Linked DNA regions of Homo sapiens: region 1 is linked to region 2. The links are contacts of gene promoters, found by promoter capture Hi-C in human tissues and cell types (Jung and others, 2019). All regions are on one chromosome and are shown on one strand. Each heading gives the region's core, a stretch centred on a gene start or on the middle of the fragment in contact. The rest is flanking DNA. Distances are from core to core; before and after follow the strand shown.

Evidence for each region. The method cuts DNA at HindIII sites, captures the fragments that hold promoters and counts their contacts. A contact is called where the count stands out against the background at its distance.
Region 1: a fragment that was not itself captured here is called in contact with the fragment with the promoter of VPS35 in region 2 in 1 of the 25 tissues and cell types used here (lymphoblastoid cells).

What each region holds. Positions count from the first base shown.
Region 1 is chr16:47,047,007-47,050,313 of GRCh38, reverse strand. No RefSeq gene overlaps it. Among named protein-coding and RNA genes, the nearest start is that of DNAJA2-DT, 75 kb to the right of the region's middle. RefSeq lists enhancers at 3,240-3,289, 3,300-3,307. The HindIII fragment of the contact is 9,133 bases long and covers 1-3,307 here.
Region 2 is chr16:46,687,279-46,690,538 of GRCh38, reverse strand. VPS35 (VPS35 retromer complex component) reads left to right here and starts at 1,361. Exons shown (of 17, transcript NM_018206.6): 1 at 1,361-1,408. The coding sequence starts at 1,406. It overlaps ORC6 (origin recognition complex subunit 6), which reads right to left and starts at 880. Exons shown (of 7, transcript NM_014321.4): 1 at 769-880. The coding sequence starts at 833. RefSeq lists enhancers at 57-126, 177-256, 494-1,192, 1,193-1,890 and silencers at 597-896, 1,217-1,456, 1,607-1,656. The HindIII fragment of the contact is 11,418 bases long and covers 1-3,260 here.

The DNA.
Region 1 (3,307 bases), core at 166-2,665, 360 kb before region 2:
GGGTGGGGGCTCCCAGCTGGTGGTGCCTTCCAGAGAAGGAGCTGACTGGGGTGGGTTGACAGCTTTTTCTGATGTGTCAATAAATCACAAATCACTGCCTGAATCACCAGAACCAACTGTCACTTTATAAATTCCAATCCACAGAAACCCATTGCCCCTTCCCCAGCGCATTCCCTTCCTAAGGCAGCTGCCAAACATAAAGCCCTGGTTCTGGGCATCCCACATGCCTCTGCGAGTCTTTGGCAGCTCGAGTGGGTGCTGGGGTGGGCGTGGGGGAGAGAGTGCGGTGCTTTCTGGGTCTTTAGAGGAGATCAACCAGTGGCCAGGAGGTCTGGCTTCTGGTCCCAGCTGAGTCCTGACTTACAGTGGGACCTTGGGCGAATCCCTTTCCCTCTGTTGGCCTGCTGCCTCTAACCAGCATTTACTGAGCTCACTGAGTGCTGCAATTGACTTGTAATATGTCTTTGAGTCCTAACAATCATTCCATAAGGCAGTTACTCGCTATTACTGTCGTCTTTTTTTGTGATGGATTTAGAAGCCTCAAACATGCAGAGGTTGAAGAACGCGCCTAAAGGTCCTAAGGCTAGCAGTGGGCAGAGCCGTGGTCTCCAACCATAGCCCTGCATGCGCAGCTGCCCATGCACTGGGCTGGGGGATTCTTTGGCGCAGTGGGAGCCTGTAACCTTTCTGCAAGGGATTTGGGGGATGGAGAGGAGACACAAATCATGGAAAGCACACTTTGGATTCCTGATCACTTAGGGAGGCCCTCAGGGTGAGTGGGGAGAAGGCAGGGGATGTCTCCACCCTGATTCCTGGAGTGAGAGCCTCCAGGGATTCCAAGTCCTGCCCAGGGCAAAGGCCAGGGGCCACTTCATGGACACCTTTGCCTCTCGAACCCCGCCAACCACAAGGTGACCATGGACTCCTCTCCCTCAAAAAATCAAGGCCCCACATGGCTGGCTCGGGCAGTCCTGCCCAGAACACAGGGGTGGCATGAATAAGCCCTGTGCCACACTGGTGCTGTGATTTGGGGGTTCAGAGAGGGTGTAGTCTCAGTACTATTTGCCCTTCACTGGGGCTCCTCTGCAGCGGGCATTGAGAACCAGGGGCCTTCCCTGGCTGCCGCAATCCCTGCAGAGACCCACAAGGAGGAGAGTCCCGGGAGGCCCTGGAAGCCTTGGTGGAGAGGGGACAAGACTCCAGTCCCTGCCACGTCATGCTTCCCAGGGACCCCAGCCAAGGTCCTAGGTTACAACTCATGGTTTCAAGAGACAGAGACCTGAATCCAACCAACTCAAGTAAAGGGGGCTTATTCAGAGGATACCGGGGCTGGTCACCACTGGGGTGCCTCAGGGACAACTGGAATAAAGGACTCAAACACCACAGGATGCTGCCTGTCCCTGCGCTCCCCATCTCTGAAGCTGCCTTCCTGCTGCTGCCTGGCCTCCTGTGCAGGGGAAGAGCAGGGCTGCCATGGCTCCAGCCATCGCCAGAGGGATATTGCCTCCCTTGCCTTAGCACCAGCCTAACGCATCCCAGACAGAGGCTGTGGTTGGCCAAACAGAGACCAGTAGCCCATTCCTGGCCCAATCAGCTTTGGCAAGGGGACAAGGCCATATGTCAGAAGCAGACCCGCCAGGCTTACCTGCATCCAGATCGATCCCAGAGAAGGAGACGCTCTGGGGACCAGGAAGCCACTCCAACTGGGGTCTGTTGGAGCCTCTCTGAGCCTTCATTTCCTCACCAGTGAATTGAAGTGATATTTGGCCAGCTCAGTGGCTCACGACTATAATCCCAGTGCTCTGGGGAGCAGAGGAAGGAGGATTGCTTGAGGCCAAGAGTTTGAGACAAGCCTGGCAACATAGTGAGATTCCATCTCCACAAAAATACAAAAAATAATTAGTTGGGCATGTGGTGCCGCTTGTAGTCCCAGCTACTCAGGAGGTTGCGGTGCAAGAATCGCTTGAACCCAGGAGTTTGAGGCTGCAGTGAGCCTTGATTGCAGCACTGCGCTCCAGCCTGGGTGACAGAGCAAGACACTGTCTCAAAACAAAACAAAACAAAGCAAAAAGGTGATAGGTACCTTCTTCATGGGCAACTGTGTGTTATTGATGAGATGGTGCATGCAGAAAGAGTGTTTGGTGGCTGAAAGGACTTGACAAAGATTAGCTTTGGATTATTGCAGCTGTTGATGGTGTTGCTAATCGAAGGACTTGCTCTGCCAAGGACTCCAGCAAGGACTGAGGTTCCTGCTATGCAGACTGTGGGTAGAGGCTTAGTGCTCCCGAGCCCTGCTTCTCCCATGGTCCCCCAGTGGCCTCCTGAGTGGGCCATGGCCCTGAGCTCAGAGGGCACCAGGACCCTCCCCAGGCCGGCTGAAGAGGCAGATTCCAGAACAGCCTCCTCCCCAGCTGGGAACACCTCCCCAGATCTCAGTTCCCTTGCCTATCAGATGGAGGACATCAGATCTGCTTTCCTCTTCTGCAGTGGTGAGGAACAAGCAAGAAGACATGAGTGGAAGGAAAAACTGATGTGTCTTATTAGCAGTTTATTGTTGTTATTAATTATCAGCTCCAGAAAACTGCTGGGATTACAAGCCTGTGTTTTCTCACATCTCTCTAAAGGCCATTACCACGAGGGGAGCCAGCAGACTTAATTTGTGAATGCTAGCTACTAAATTATGCAAAACCAGATCTGCTAATGAATTTCTCCCATGGTGGCGGCTGGTGCTGAGGAGTTTGCAGGTACACTTCTTGGAGAGAGGGGTGGAAAGGGGCCTGGGTATTCACTGTTCCACCTCCACACTCAGAACTCACCTGCCTTCACCCACCCCTGGGACAAAGGCTGCCTAAAATGTGAATTCCCAGCTGGGAGAGGCATCAAGATGGCTGAATAGATTATTTGGTCATTCAAAGTGGTTTTTGTTTTTTTCAGTTTGAATAGACTCAAATAGCTTGTCTCAGAAGGAAGAAAAAGGCTGCTGTTGAATTGAATGTAAGCCTGCAAATGACTTCTCTTTCTCTCTCTCTGCTCTATTTCCGAAAGCTATTTATAGATTAGAAGCCTGTCATTGCAAATTAGGGACATTTTCTTCCTCCCCCATCCTCTACTACTCCAGCCCCAGCTCCTTGAGGGCGGTGGTCACTGGGCAAGCCCAGCATCAGCACTGTGCAACGGGCAGCCTGTGCACATCCCCTTCTGAAGACAGCTGCCCCCTGCTTCCACTCCTGACTGTGAGCTCCTCTAGGAGAGGGGCTGGGTCCGCATGTCCAGGACCAGGCTAAGGCTGGACACAGGGTAGGCCTCA
Region 2 (3,260 bases), core at 112-2,611:
TTCTAACAAGTGACAAGATGATATGGCTGTTGCTGGTCCAGGAACCACATTTTGAGAACCACTGTTCTAAATGACTACCGAGTCCTGCAGGTTTGTCTTCAAATCTTTTAAGTGCTGTTTTCCTTGCCTTCCCTCGCCTGACTGCTCCACGTTTTAGCTACAATGGCTTTATTTCGAACCCCGGATCCCGCTTCCCATCTCAACGCTTTTACAGGAGCTGTCGCCCCTGCCTGGGCTGCTCTTGCCATATCTTTCCTCGCCTAGCATCTGCCATCAATCCGGCCTCAGCGGGAACGGCGCCTGCTTTTCCGAGTTTTGTTTGTTTCTTTGTGTTAAAGGCAGCCGCTAGGCCGCGCTCCACCCCAAGCCCAGTGGCTCAGGAGCATTGCCCGGTTAAGGTCTACACAGTCCTCGCCCTTACAGACAGCGGGGTCTGCGCCTCGTTGTCGGGTTCCCCGCTATAAACCCGACTGCAGTAGGCGTTGGCGGAATGAACGGAAAGTTCTCCCTGGCTCATTTTTCTACCCACGGACAGGGCTGGCTGTTCCCAGGGACGTGTGCCATCGCCGTTTGCTATCGCCCTTCTTGCCATCTCATTCAAGCTCACGGCCGAGAAGTTTTTCTTGAAGTAGGCCCTAAACCCCGCCCGGCCCCAGCGCTCCCCGTCACTCCCCCGCCGCCCGTCGCCTGGGAAGGGCGCGGGCCTCACCTGAGGGCCCAGGGCCGCGAGGCGGAAGCCCAGCCCTGGTCTTGCGCGGCCGAACTCACCTCAGCATGTCGGGCTCGGCGAGGCCCAGGCGCGGGGCTAGGCGCCCGATCAGCTCCGACCCCATGGCGCCGGCACTAAAGCGAACAATTCCCGTGAACGCCGCGGGTCAACGAAACCCGCGCGCAAAGGCTGCACCGGCCAGTGAGAGCCAGGCCCCACCCCCGGCGCATCTGGATTGGTTAGGACAGGACGTTGAGACCGTCCCACAAACCAATCAGGGTCTTCCTTTTGCGCATGCGCATCAATAGCGCAATCGCCAACGCAGATGCGGTGAACGTGGACTTGTCGGCTCCCCCTCCTTCCATTCCTTCTTGACAAACTCATCACACACTGCCTTTCCCTCCTGTTGTCTCCTGCCTGCCGCCGGGCGATCCCCACTGCCCTGCACTGCTCCGCCCACTCTCGCACGCTGTGGTGAGATTGGCTGGCGCTCAGGTCCGTCCATCTAGCGTTAAGTGACAGGGCCAATAAGCACGCGAGACTCGGGTTCCTAGAAGTAGGCCAATCAATGAGCCGCCTGTAGGGCCCGGGGGCGGGGCTAGAGAGGGCGGGGCTTGGAGGGGCCGCAGCGTCACATGACCGCGGGAGGCTACGCGCGGGGCGGGTGCTGCTTGCTGCAGGCTCTGGGGAGTCGCCATGGTGAGTGCTGAGGGGGCAGTGGCACCTGGGTCGACCCTCCTTGTAGCCCCTGCTCTCTCCCACCGCCCCGCACTCCAGCGAGTGGAGAAGGGGCCCCACAGACCGTTCGGGATTAAGACCAGCCCGATTTGGCCTGCGGGATAGGGGACAGCAGGAGGAAGGCCGCGGGCAGGCTGATCCGGGCCGGGGTGGGCGGCGGCTCTTGGCTGCGGCCGTTGCTGAGAGACGGGGCGGCCTCTCTGTGGGGTTGACTTGGCATGTAGGCTTTGGGGTCCATGAAGGCCTGCGGCCTCCTTTAAGTGGAATCGGTCACCTGCCTACCACGAGGGGACCGGTAGTCCTAGGTCTGAGCGTCTGGCCCCCGGGGCGCGTGGAGGCCCTGAGACTCGGAGGTGGCGCCGGGACCCGCCCAGATGTTGCGTTTCTACCTTTGTGCCTAGTTGTGCTCGGCCGTCCCCACGCCCTCCTGGAGGGGTCGCAGTGATTCCTTGGCCTTTCTTGGCCTCATACCCGCCTTCGGCTGCAGTGTTTGTCAGCGAGTTCTGGGGACCTGCTTACATGAATTTCCTGGAAGGACTCAGGCTGTCTTCTAATCCTGACGGTCGCAAAGGAGACTGATTGTTTACTTTAGCATTTGTGCATTGGGCGCACCTTGCCTCTTTTGTCTCGCCATTGATAAAATCCAAGTATTTGACTTGCTGGAAGCAGTACTTCTCCTTAGGGCCCGTCTATGACGGCAGCAAATCGTGGTGTGGCTGTTGGCCGGTAAACTTGAACTTCCTCAAAATGTGAATCTTTGTGTCTGGTTCCCACAAAGGCAAGTTGTCACTTGCATTTTATTAGCGTTTAACATAGCCTGCACTGTGTAAATAAATTTTTTGAGTATATACTGTATGTCCGCTTTAATTACCTTACTCACTCTGTGTAGATAGGCTTCTGTAAATCTGTAAGCCTGGAAACAGATTTCACTTTAAATGTCTTAATGCCAGAAAGGATTAAGTGTTTTACAAATACTATTTTCATATAACGTGTTGCCGTACAAGGTGATTTTGCCTGTTTCTCAGGATTTTTATAATTGGGAATTGATACAAGACCGGCGCAAAATTTAACTTTAGGATTTGTGTGTTTCCAGCGTTTATGGATTGACATTTATATTGTTTTGTAATGGAAAACACTTAATTGAGGATGTATTACACACTCCGATTCTTTGTTGGGTGAACCAGTTGGGAGCAATCAGCCAGACACACAGTCTTGTCCTCATGAATTTTATTGGGAAAGGAAACTTGAGTATTCGTTCTTTCACAGTCACTGTCTATAATTTAGGCAGCTCGCTTAGTCTTCTTGGTGTCGCACTTTTGCATCCGAAAGCAAGTGTTGGCGGCCCCTTTGGCCCTTCCCAGCCCTAAAATTCCAGAATCCACTTCAATTCATCAAACATCTTGTGTGCCTTCAGTGTCACGGACTGTGGCCCTGGGTACCAATGTCGAACTTAAGAGGCTACTGGGGGAGACACGCTTGTAGAACTTAACTGTAATACAGTGTGTGGATTGCTTTACTAACATTGTCAACTCAGTGCTTTGGGGTCATGGAGGGATAGTTTTGCCTGGGGATTTTGGGAAGGACTACAGGAAGTAACGTGAACTGAGACTATAAAGAGGGTGGAAAGAAATTCTCCAGGTGGAAAGAAAAGGTATTGCTAATAGATGAAGCCAAAACGTTCAGTGTGCTCCATCAGAGGATTCTTGGGGATATGTATTGGAAATGAAGTTAGAGCCGTTTGGTGTTCAAATTATATTTTGAAGTTGTCATGCCCTCATCATCCTTATTTCTCTCTACTTCAGTTGTCAATGTA